Linked DNA regions of Homo sapiens: all the other regions are linked to region 2. The links are contacts of gene promoters, found by promoter capture Hi-C in blood cells and fetal thymus (Javierre and others, 2016). All regions are on one chromosome and are shown on one strand. Each heading gives the region's core, a stretch centred on a gene start or on the middle of the fragment in contact. The rest is flanking DNA. Distances are from core to core; before and after follow the strand shown. Region 1 has its middle 5.2 kb from the start of CTU1. Region 2 holds the start of VSIG10L (V-set and immunoglobulin domain containing 10 like). Region 3 has its middle 18 kb from the start of SIGLEC6.

What was found. Contacts are between HindIII fragments. The CHiCAGO score rates a contact against its expected background, and 5 or more counts as called.
Region 1: a contact is called between a fragment that was not itself captured here and the fragment with the promoter of VSIG10L in region 2, in 1 of 17 cell types (fetal thymus). The highest score is 5.0, in fetal thymus.
Region 3: a fragment that was not itself captured here is called in contact with the fragment with the promoter of VSIG10L in region 2 in 1 of 17 cell types (total B cells); the score reaches 5.8 in total B cells.

The regions. Positions count from the first base shown.
Region 1 is chr19:51,112,075-51,115,106 of GRCh38, reverse strand. No RefSeq gene overlaps it. Among named protein-coding and RNA genes, the nearest start is that of CTU1, 5.2 kb to the right of the region's middle. The HindIII fragment of the contact is 1,951 bases long and covers 460-2,410 here.
Region 2 is chr19:51,340,692-51,343,578 of GRCh38, reverse strand. It overlaps VSIG10L (V-set and immunoglobulin domain containing 10 like), which reads left to right and starts at 1,440. Exons shown (of 10, transcript NM_001163922.3): 1 at 1,440-1,494; 2 at 1,572-2,426; 3 at 2,853-2,887. The coding sequence starts at 1,455. It overlaps VSIG10L-AS1 (VSIG10L antisense RNA 1), which reads right to left. Exons shown (of 5, transcript NR_186316.1): 1 at 2,862-2,887; 2 at 2,405-2,513; 3 at 1,594-1,729. The HindIII fragment of the contact is 2,004 bases long and covers 99-2,102 here.
Region 3 is chr19:51,547,809-51,550,882 of GRCh38, reverse strand. No RefSeq gene overlaps it. Among named protein-coding and RNA genes, the nearest start is that of SIGLEC6, 18 kb to the right of the region's middle. The HindIII fragment of the contact is 1,439 bases long and covers 832-2,270 here.

The DNA.
Region 1 (3,032 bases), core at 186-2,685, 230 kb after region 2:
GAGAGCATTGAGCCATATGGAGAGAGATTGAGAACTGGAGTGACAGGGACTCAGAGGAGGGGCCGCCAGTTTTTAGAACTAATACTTACAATAGTAAGGTCAGGTGTTGTGGCTCATGCCTGTAATCCTAGCACTTTGAGAGGGCAAGCCAGGCGGATCACCTGAGGTCAGGAGTTCGAGACTAGCCTGGCCAACATGGTAAAACCCCGTCTCTATTAAAAATACAAAAATCAGCTGGGTGTGGTGGCGGGCGCCTGTAATCCCAGCTACTCAGGAGGCTGAGGCAGGAGAATCGCTTGAACCCAGGAGGCAGAGGTTGCAGTGAGCTGAGATGGTACCATTGCACTCCAGCCTGGGCAACAAGAGTGAAACTCCATCTCAAAAAAAAGAAAAGTTTGACTTCTGTTAGACAGGAGAAAGTGCAATAGATTTATAGTGCCTGACCAAGAAAAGGAAGCTTTATTTAGCTATCATGTCCCTTTCTTCCAGTCATCTCATTTTGCAACTTCTTCAAACAAAGCATGAAGAGAGAAAGCAAAGAATAGTGAAATGTGAGTACTGGGGTTTCTCTGTTCACCACATCCTCCTGGTTTTCTGACTGGAAACCAGTCAAAATGGTCCAGACTTACTGACTAAGACGTCGATCACAAGTGATGGAATCTTTGTGTATGCTGGTAAAAGAGAATTTGATGAGAGGATTTTGCAGTTTCCCACATCATCTAAGAAGAGTAGGGCAGCCTGTTGGGAAGGACAGATCTCCATGAGCCTCCCGTCCTCCTACACATCTCGTTGGGTATTGCCCAAAACATGATGGTCTGAGATCTCGTTACCTGGCCTAGTTCTCAGGTTGTGTTTGCAGGGAGCCACCCTGAGGGATGGGGTAATGTCTCCCTCCAGGACAAAGAGTAGCCTCACTTGCTGCTGGCTGTAAAGGAGCTAGATTCTCCAACTTGCCAGTTTTGTTTCTCGGGGTCCTATCAAACTGAGACAGAGGTTTCTCTGAGCCTTATCCTATATCAACAATATTTACCAAGTCACTCTAGGAGTCAGAACAAACCCAATTTCTGTCCCTATGGGCTCACCATCTAGCACAGTGGAGAGCATTGAAAATGCCTTCACAGACAACGGGGCCATTAGGAGGGTGCTGGGGTCAGAACAAAGACCTGGGCTACAGGCAGAGATTTCACAAGTAACAGCTTTATTTTTTAATTTTTGAATACATATATTGAGAGTTTATTATATGTCAGGTATGATTCTTGTTGAACAAAATAGACAAAAATGTCTTCACCTATTACTACATGTTAGATGGAGACTTGCCCTGGGAATGAGGAGTGAGGAGCATTTTCCAGGGCCCCAGAGCTGAGCACAAACAGATAAAGGGGAAGGGCAAGACTGGCAGGCCTGTTTCTCCCCTCTTAAGGATTGGGCTACCAGGTGACAAATGTTCAGAGACGTCCAAATGTGGGGCAGGTAGTCAGCTAAATGACCCCAGAGGTAGGTATCAAGGCATGATGACTCTGGAAGAATAGTTGCAAGCCGTATCTTGCAGGCTTACATATCAAAAAAAGTCTTGACTTTATATTGAGGGCACTGGGGAGCCATGGAAGGATTAAGAGCAAGGGGGAGGGGCAGAGTCAGCTCTTGGTGGGAGAAGGTATCCCTCTGGGGTGATGTGAGGGAGACTTTAGGGAGAGGAGGAGAGTGGAGGCCAAGAAGTTGGAGAGGAAAACAGAGTGGAGGTCTGAGCAGAAGAGGAAGAGGATGAAATGACTAGGAGCAGAGGCCATGGGGATGTTGAAGGGGGAGTGAAGTGAGCCTATTCCAGGAAGGGAAGTTTGCAAGACATCTTGCAAACAGGATATGGTAGGTGATAGAGAAATATCTATCTGACTCCTAGAATCCTAATTTGGATAATGATGATGGTTCCATCACTGAGAAGGGGGGAAATGTGGTTGTCTGGGGCTCAGAGCAGATTGGGATGAACAGCATGGTGTGCAAGACATCGGGGGGAGCCACGAGAAGTGCAGAGAGAAGAGAGGGTGCGAGGAGGAGCTGTGGAAACTCACATAAAAGGCTCCTGGGATGAGGAGAACGAGAGACAAGGCCAAAGAGAAACAGAGGGCCCTTCAGAGAGTGTTGCCAACAGAGAGTCTTTCCTGGTGCCTCCTCTGGCCAACAAAGTTTATTAGCACTGCTGTGGGAACCCAGGCAGACCTACCATTTAGTAAGGAGATGCAAAAACTAACAAGAAGGCAGTGGGACAGAGCTGGACTTAGGGCAAAATAAGGACTGTTTGATACACTACAATGAAAACAGACAAACCAACCAACCACAGACAAAAATCCCGTTCCTCAGTAGGCTCCACGGGTGAACGAACTCTCTTCATGCAGAAATTCTACCCAGGGAAGCTTCTAGCCCTTCGAGGGGTGGGGAAGCAAGTGCTGCCAGTAACAAGCACCAGATATAGGAAATGGCCCTCAGAGATGCACATTGATGCTGCAGGAACCAAAGCTCCCAGAGCTGGAGAGAGACAGCTGAGCCCAGCCACCATATCTTCCACCAGACGCGGATTGCTTAGGATGGCAGCTAGATGACCTGGAGATGGCAAGGCATTCTGAGGCTGGAAGGGTGTGCAGGGACCAGATCATGCAGCACCTCCGTTGCAGTCTGCAGAGGTTTGACAATGGAAAGCCTGATGGCAATGGGGAGCCATGGAAGAGTTTCGAGAAGGGGAGAGACAAGGTTAAATCTGGGGCTAGTGTGGGAGGATTCAGGAATGAAGGGATTAGAGGTTGGGGTGAGAGAGTCCAGGCAAGAAACGGCCGGCGCAGTGGCTCACATCTGTAATCCTGGGACTTTGGGAGGCCGAGGTAGGCAGATCACTTGAGGTCAGGAGTTCAAGACCAGCCTGGCTAACACAGTGAAACTGTGTCTCTACTAAAAATAAAAAAATTAGTTGGGCATGGTGGTAGACACCTGTAATCCCAGCTACTCCGGAGGCTGAAGCACGAGAATTGCTTGAAGCTGGAAGG
Region 2 (2,887 bases), core at 191-2,690:
GAGCTGAGGCACTCACTGGGTGACAGAACGAGACTCCATCTCAAAATATATATATATTACCAGTATTATTACTGGTGAGAACTGGGCCAGGGTAAGCTTAGAGGACTGGGAGCTGAGCAGAGGCCCTAAGCTCCACATGGGATGGTGGGAAAAGCTATCAGAAGGAGTCAATGGTCTGACCATCCTGGTCCCAAGTCCAGCTTCTCCCTCTGGCTGTGCAACCTCCTGCAGGTCCCTTGACCTCTCTGAGCCTAAGTCCCCTGGCCTGCAAAGTGAGTATAATGACACTCAGCTTATAGGGTGTTTAGAAGTGTTCAGCCTGATAGTGCATAGGAAACATTTAGCGTAGTTCCTGGCTCAAATTAAGTGGTAATTATGGTTCTTAATAAGGTGAGACCTGAAGGACAAGTTGTGGTTTAGCCAGGTTGGAGGGAGGTGGAGAGTGGGAGAGAGCATTCCAGGTAGAGGACTGGGAGGTGAGATGGGCGGGCAGGATAAGAATGGCAGGATGTTCAAGTGCTTGAGTGGGGGCTGTGCATGAGTTTGCTTTGAACCTTGGATGTCTCCAGAGGGCACTGGGGAGCCAGGGGAGGGCTGTGAGCAGGGGGAGGCAGGTTCAGCTCTGGGTATAGAAGGACCCTGGCAGGGAATGGAGGAGACTGGGCAGAGGAGGGAGACGGGGCAGGAAGAGAAGACAGAGCCTGGCCAGTGAGAACTAGGGGGAGGAGGGTTGGACTCAGATCGACAGTGGTGACAGGGAGGGAGGAGGTGGGAATGTTCTCCAGCATTTGCGAAGACAGTGAAGCCATCCTGGAGGTGTGAGGAAGTTTGGGTTAGAGGAAAGAGTCTGAGTTTAGCGGGACACAGGCCATGTGAGGGCCTCGGGGATGCGGAAATGCAGCTCTGGTCTCAGGATAGAGGCCCTGGCAGGAGATAGCACCTGGAGACTTGGTTCTGAGGGCAACAGAGAGCCGTGGGAGGGTTTGGAGCAGAGGAGGAGCAGGGTCAGATGTATCTGAGGCTGCAGGCAAGACAGAGTGGAAGGAGCCAGGAGGCTGGGGAGGAGGAAGCCTGCTCTGAAGCTGTGGCCATCAGAGGTGGGGCTCTCGGAAAGGTCACCTCACCCTCCTCCAGGAAGTCTTCCTGGCTTTGTCTCACAAATTTGCTCCCACATTTTTAGCTGGGAATGTTTTCTCCAGCTTCCCCCTGGGGGTGGGGAGGGCAGGGATCAGGCTGGGCCTCTCTGCAGATGGGACCAGCTAATGAAGAGAGTGGGATGAGGTGGGCAGCTCAGCCACCACACTGGGGTTGAGGATCTTGGCACCTCCCTCTGGGTCTGGCTCCCTTCCCCTCCCAGGAAGCTAAGCTACCAGTCCTGTTGGACTCGTCTGACCCGGGAGGGATGGGTGCAGTCCTGGGTCTCTCTCCAGTGTCCTTTCAGTGAGGCCAGCACCATGGACAACCCACAGGCTCTGCCACTCTTCCTACTCCTGGGTAAGTTCCCTGCTCAGTCCCTTCCCTGTCAGTCTCCCTCAGCAGCCTCCCCCAATGCCTTCCTCTCTTCTCTGCAGCCTCCTTGGTAGGGATCCTCACCCTCAGAGCCTCTTCTGGACTTCAGCAAACCAACTTCTCCTCTGCCTTCTCTTCAGACTCAAAGAGCTCTTCCCAGGGGCTGGGTGTGGAAGTTCCCTCCATCAAACCTCCCAGCTGGAAAGTTCCAGATCAGTTCCTGGATTCAAAAGCCTCTGCTGGAATCTCTGATTCCAGCTGGTTTCCTGAGGCCCTGAGTTCCAACATGTCTGGGTCCTTCTGGTCAAATGTTTCTGCTGAGGGCCAAGATTTGAGCCCGGTTTCCCCCTTCTCTGAAACCCCTGGTTCTGAAGTATTTCCTGATATTTCGGATCCTCAAGTTCCTGCCAAAGACCCCAAGCCTTCCTTCACTGTTAAGACCCCAGCTTCAAACATTTCTACTCAAGTCTCCCATACCAAACTGTCTGTTGAGGCCCCAGATTCAAAATTCTCCCCGGATGATATGGATCTTAAACTCTCTGCCCAGAGCCCTGAATCCAAATTTTCTGCAGAGACCCACTCAGCTGCAAGCTTTCCCCAGCAGGTGGGGGGCCCACTCGCTGTGCTGGTGGGGACCACCATCCGGCTCCCCCTAGTCCCAATCCCCAACCCTGGGCCCCCCACCTCTCTGGTGGTCTGGCGCCGGGGCTCAAAGGTGCTGGCAGCTGGGGGCCTGGGGCCAGGGGCACCTCTGATCAGCCTGGACCCTGCTCACCGAGACCACCTGCGATTTGACCAGGCCCGGGGGGTTCTGGAGCTCGCCTCTGCCCAGCTGGACGATGCAGGGGTCTACACGGCTGAGGTCATCCGGGCAGGGGTCTCCCAGCAGACTCACGAGTTCACGGTGGGTGTGTATGGTAAGTGGGCCCTGGCGTCCGGCGTGCAGGCGGCAGGGGCTGCTCTGCTCTGCCAGGCTTTGGGCAAGTCACGGTGCTGTGGGGTCCCTGGATAGGAGAAGAGGACTTCTGGGTTGAGGAAGGGAGAAAAAGAGCTAGAGGTCAAGGCAGGGGTGTCTGAGCAAAGGTGGACCTGGGATGGAGACTCCTGGGAGCCTGAACTCCCAGGTCTGAGGGAGGAGGAGGAGGCTAGGAGCCTCTTCTGGCGAACTCCTGGGTCCCGGAGAGGAGGTGTCTGGGGGCTCAAACTCATAGGTTTATGAGAGGAGAGGGATGGGGGCTGAGACTCCAGGGGCTTAGAGGGAGCAGCGGCTGGGGTTCCCTCTAAGGGGACCAAAGATGGGCTCCAGGACTGGGTGGGTCCTGAGCCCATTCTCCCTCTCCCAGAGCCCCTACCCCAGCTGTCGGTTCAGCCCAAGGCT
Region 3 (3,074 bases), core at 302-2,801, 210 kb before region 2:
AATCCATGGGTTTTCTGGACTGACTTTAATCCAGTCCACACCCACCTTTGGATCCCAGAGGGGGCCCACAGACACCATAATCCCCCTGTGGCCACAAATAAGCCCTGTCAAAACTTGGAAGAAGGCTGGGCGCAGTGGCTCATGCCTGTAATCCTAGCACTTTGGGAGGCCGAGGTGGGTGGATCACCTGAGGTCAGCAGTTCTAGACCAGCCTGGCCAACATGGTGAAACTCCATCTCTACTAAAAATACAAAAATTAGCCAGGTGTAGAGGCAGGTGCCTGTAATCCCAGCTACTAGGGAGGCCAAGGCAGGAGAATCGCTTGAACCTGGGAGGTGGAAGTTGCAGTGAGCCGAGATTGTGCCACTGCACCCCAGCCTGGGTGACAGAGCGAGACTCCATCTCAAAAAAAAAAAAAAAAAAAAAAAAAAGAAAGAAAGAAAAGAAAAGAAAAGAAAAACCTGGAAGAGAGGACCTGGGGCAAAGCTAACCTCCTCAGAGACCCAAGGACCCACAGTTGCTCTCAGAGCATCAGATGTTCCAGATGCAGGAAAGTAGGAACACATCTCTAGGTCAGAGATATCACATGAAATATAGCTCCCAATGAATGACACTGCCTCTGACTGTGACCAGTAGAGAAGGGTCCCCAGGAGAGAGCCCCAGAGGCAGGAACATACCTGTTTCTTATCTGGAGAGTAAGGGAGAGGTGCAGGATCCTGGGGCTGAGGGCAGGGGAGGCCAACCCCAGGCTGACACTCTGGGGTCTCCCCTCTGAGTTTCTCCTCCTCTGTAGCTTGTATCAGATACCCATAATTTATATCCCTTTAAGCTTAAAGCCAGCCATCTTGGAGTCTAAACAGCACCATGCCAGGGGCTTGTGAAGGAAGATGCACCTCTCTTCCTGGGGTTCTGAAGCCCCCGCTTCAAGTCCTCAGTGTACCCCTGTATCCTAGGGTCCAAGATTGTGGCATCAGGCCTCCATGCCAGGTGACCTTCCTAGGAAGCGGTAGATCCATGGGTAGAACTATCTGAGGAGTCCAGCACATGGTTAAAAACCTAGGTGTGGCTTTTCAGGTTCGATCACAGGCAGTTGCAAAGGCTTTTCCTGGCAGGCCTCACTGGGAGACTCCACCCTCTTCACACTCGGTTGTGGTCAAGGACCCCACCTTTCTGGCCAGTCATGCGCTATGCATATTTGCATTTCTATCCCAGTTACATTTATTTCTAGGCCTCGTTTTCTGAGGCCTTGGACAGAGGTCTTCCACAGATGCCTCTGCTGAGACCACCTTGCGGGGGGCAGGAGGAGGAACCTTGAAGACACGTTTCCCCACTCTGACTCAGTACTCAGTTCTTTTCCACTCCTAGCCCTTCTCATGCCCCCACCCTTCCCAGGGTCTGTGGAACTGCCTGAGCCTTTTGTTCAGGGCTCCCTCCTCAGTGAGAGGACCCCGACCCCTATGTCTGTGTTGATCCATGAGCCACCTGACCCTCCAGCAGTGTGCACTGTTCCAGAGGGGTGGCAGGAAATGAAACAAGAAGAGTTGGTGCATTCTCTGGTTTAGACTCTTGCCTCTATCACTGCTGTCTGTGATTAAAGGCTTGATTCATTCTTTCAGTTTGGTCTATTGTTGCTTTAATCGGTGATCCTGCCACCTTGAAGCACAGCTCTCTCTCACAGCCCAGCTGAGCTCCTCATACCACCAGGCTCAGCATCCCCCTTGGATGTTGGCCAGGACACCTGGGTGGCTGAGGGCTGCCAGGATGGACAGGAAGGGTTCAGGGCCTGAGAGATTCAACGCCTGGTCAGGAGCTCGACTGGAGAAGGGAGGAGAAATCACAGCAGTCCCCACCTCAGCAGCTTTCCATGGATTTAGCCAAAGAGGCAGAGCAGCCATACTCCTCCGCATGGTGGTAGAAAATGGTGGCTTTCTCCATTCCAGATGCCAGATGCCAGATTCTCCACAGAATCTGGCTATTGGCCCCACCCAAGGAAATGGTACAGGTAGGAAAAAAACCTTCCCTCTGGGGTCGTGATGAAGGTGGGCTTGCTGCTTGCTCAGGACAGAAGTGGAGGCCCAGAGCTCCGACAGGAGAGGACTGAAGACATCCCAATGAGTCCCACTCCCCCTCACCCCGCTGCCCCCTGCAGTCTGCCCCTCCCACCCATCCCTGATAAAATTCTCACCACTGCTGTCACCAATGTGCAGCTCCTTCTCCTCCTACCTCCCTGGCCAGGCCATCTCAGCCATTCCCCAGCCCACAATTAAGCTTAAGATTGTGTGTTCCCCACCCCTCCCACTGGGGCCTTCTGTTTCCCCTTGGTGAACACATCCACCTCCCCTGAGTACAACCCCAGTAGGCTTTGTGAAACTCCCTACCCCTCCCTCTCCAGCCCAGACCTGCCCCCAAGCCCTGACGGTTCATCTCACCAGCTCTCTGCCATGACACCCCCAAGTCCCTGCTGCTTGAGTCGGGGCTCTGGGAGCCACTGCAGATGCTCCCCTCTCTCACGCATTATAAGAATTAAAGAAAGAAGAAGGAAACACAAAAAACAGCTGAACAGTTAAAGATAGGTTTATTTTGGAGACTAAACCTGAGAAGGGCTTCTGGCTGAGTTAGGTCAGAGGCACTCTCTTTTACCGACTAAGAGTTTTTAAGGATTCAGGGCGGTACAGCTTATCACAGGCTCAGAATGTTTCTGTGTCTCTTTGTCTTGCTTACCTGGGAGGGAGAGTTTTGTGTCTAATCCCATACGTCTTCCTGCAGCTGCAGGCATACCCCCTGAGTCTGCTTTTAGCTTCCCTATCTTAGTGTACCTAAAGGGGAAGGAATGTGTTTATTAGGGCCCACTGTTTTACTGGGGCCCATTGTATGAGTGTGAAGTTTGGTGGTTACCCAGGAGACTTTTCCCCCTCAGACATCCCTTTATGCCTGAGCTGTCTTATCTGTGTTTCACTGTCTGCTCTTTCCGGCTGCTTGTTGTCAGAAGATAAGTGATTTCCTTGAAATGCACGAGGCTAGAAAGGGAGCTGGAACTTAAAGTGGCAGTGTTAGTCTGAGATGATGGTGCTCCT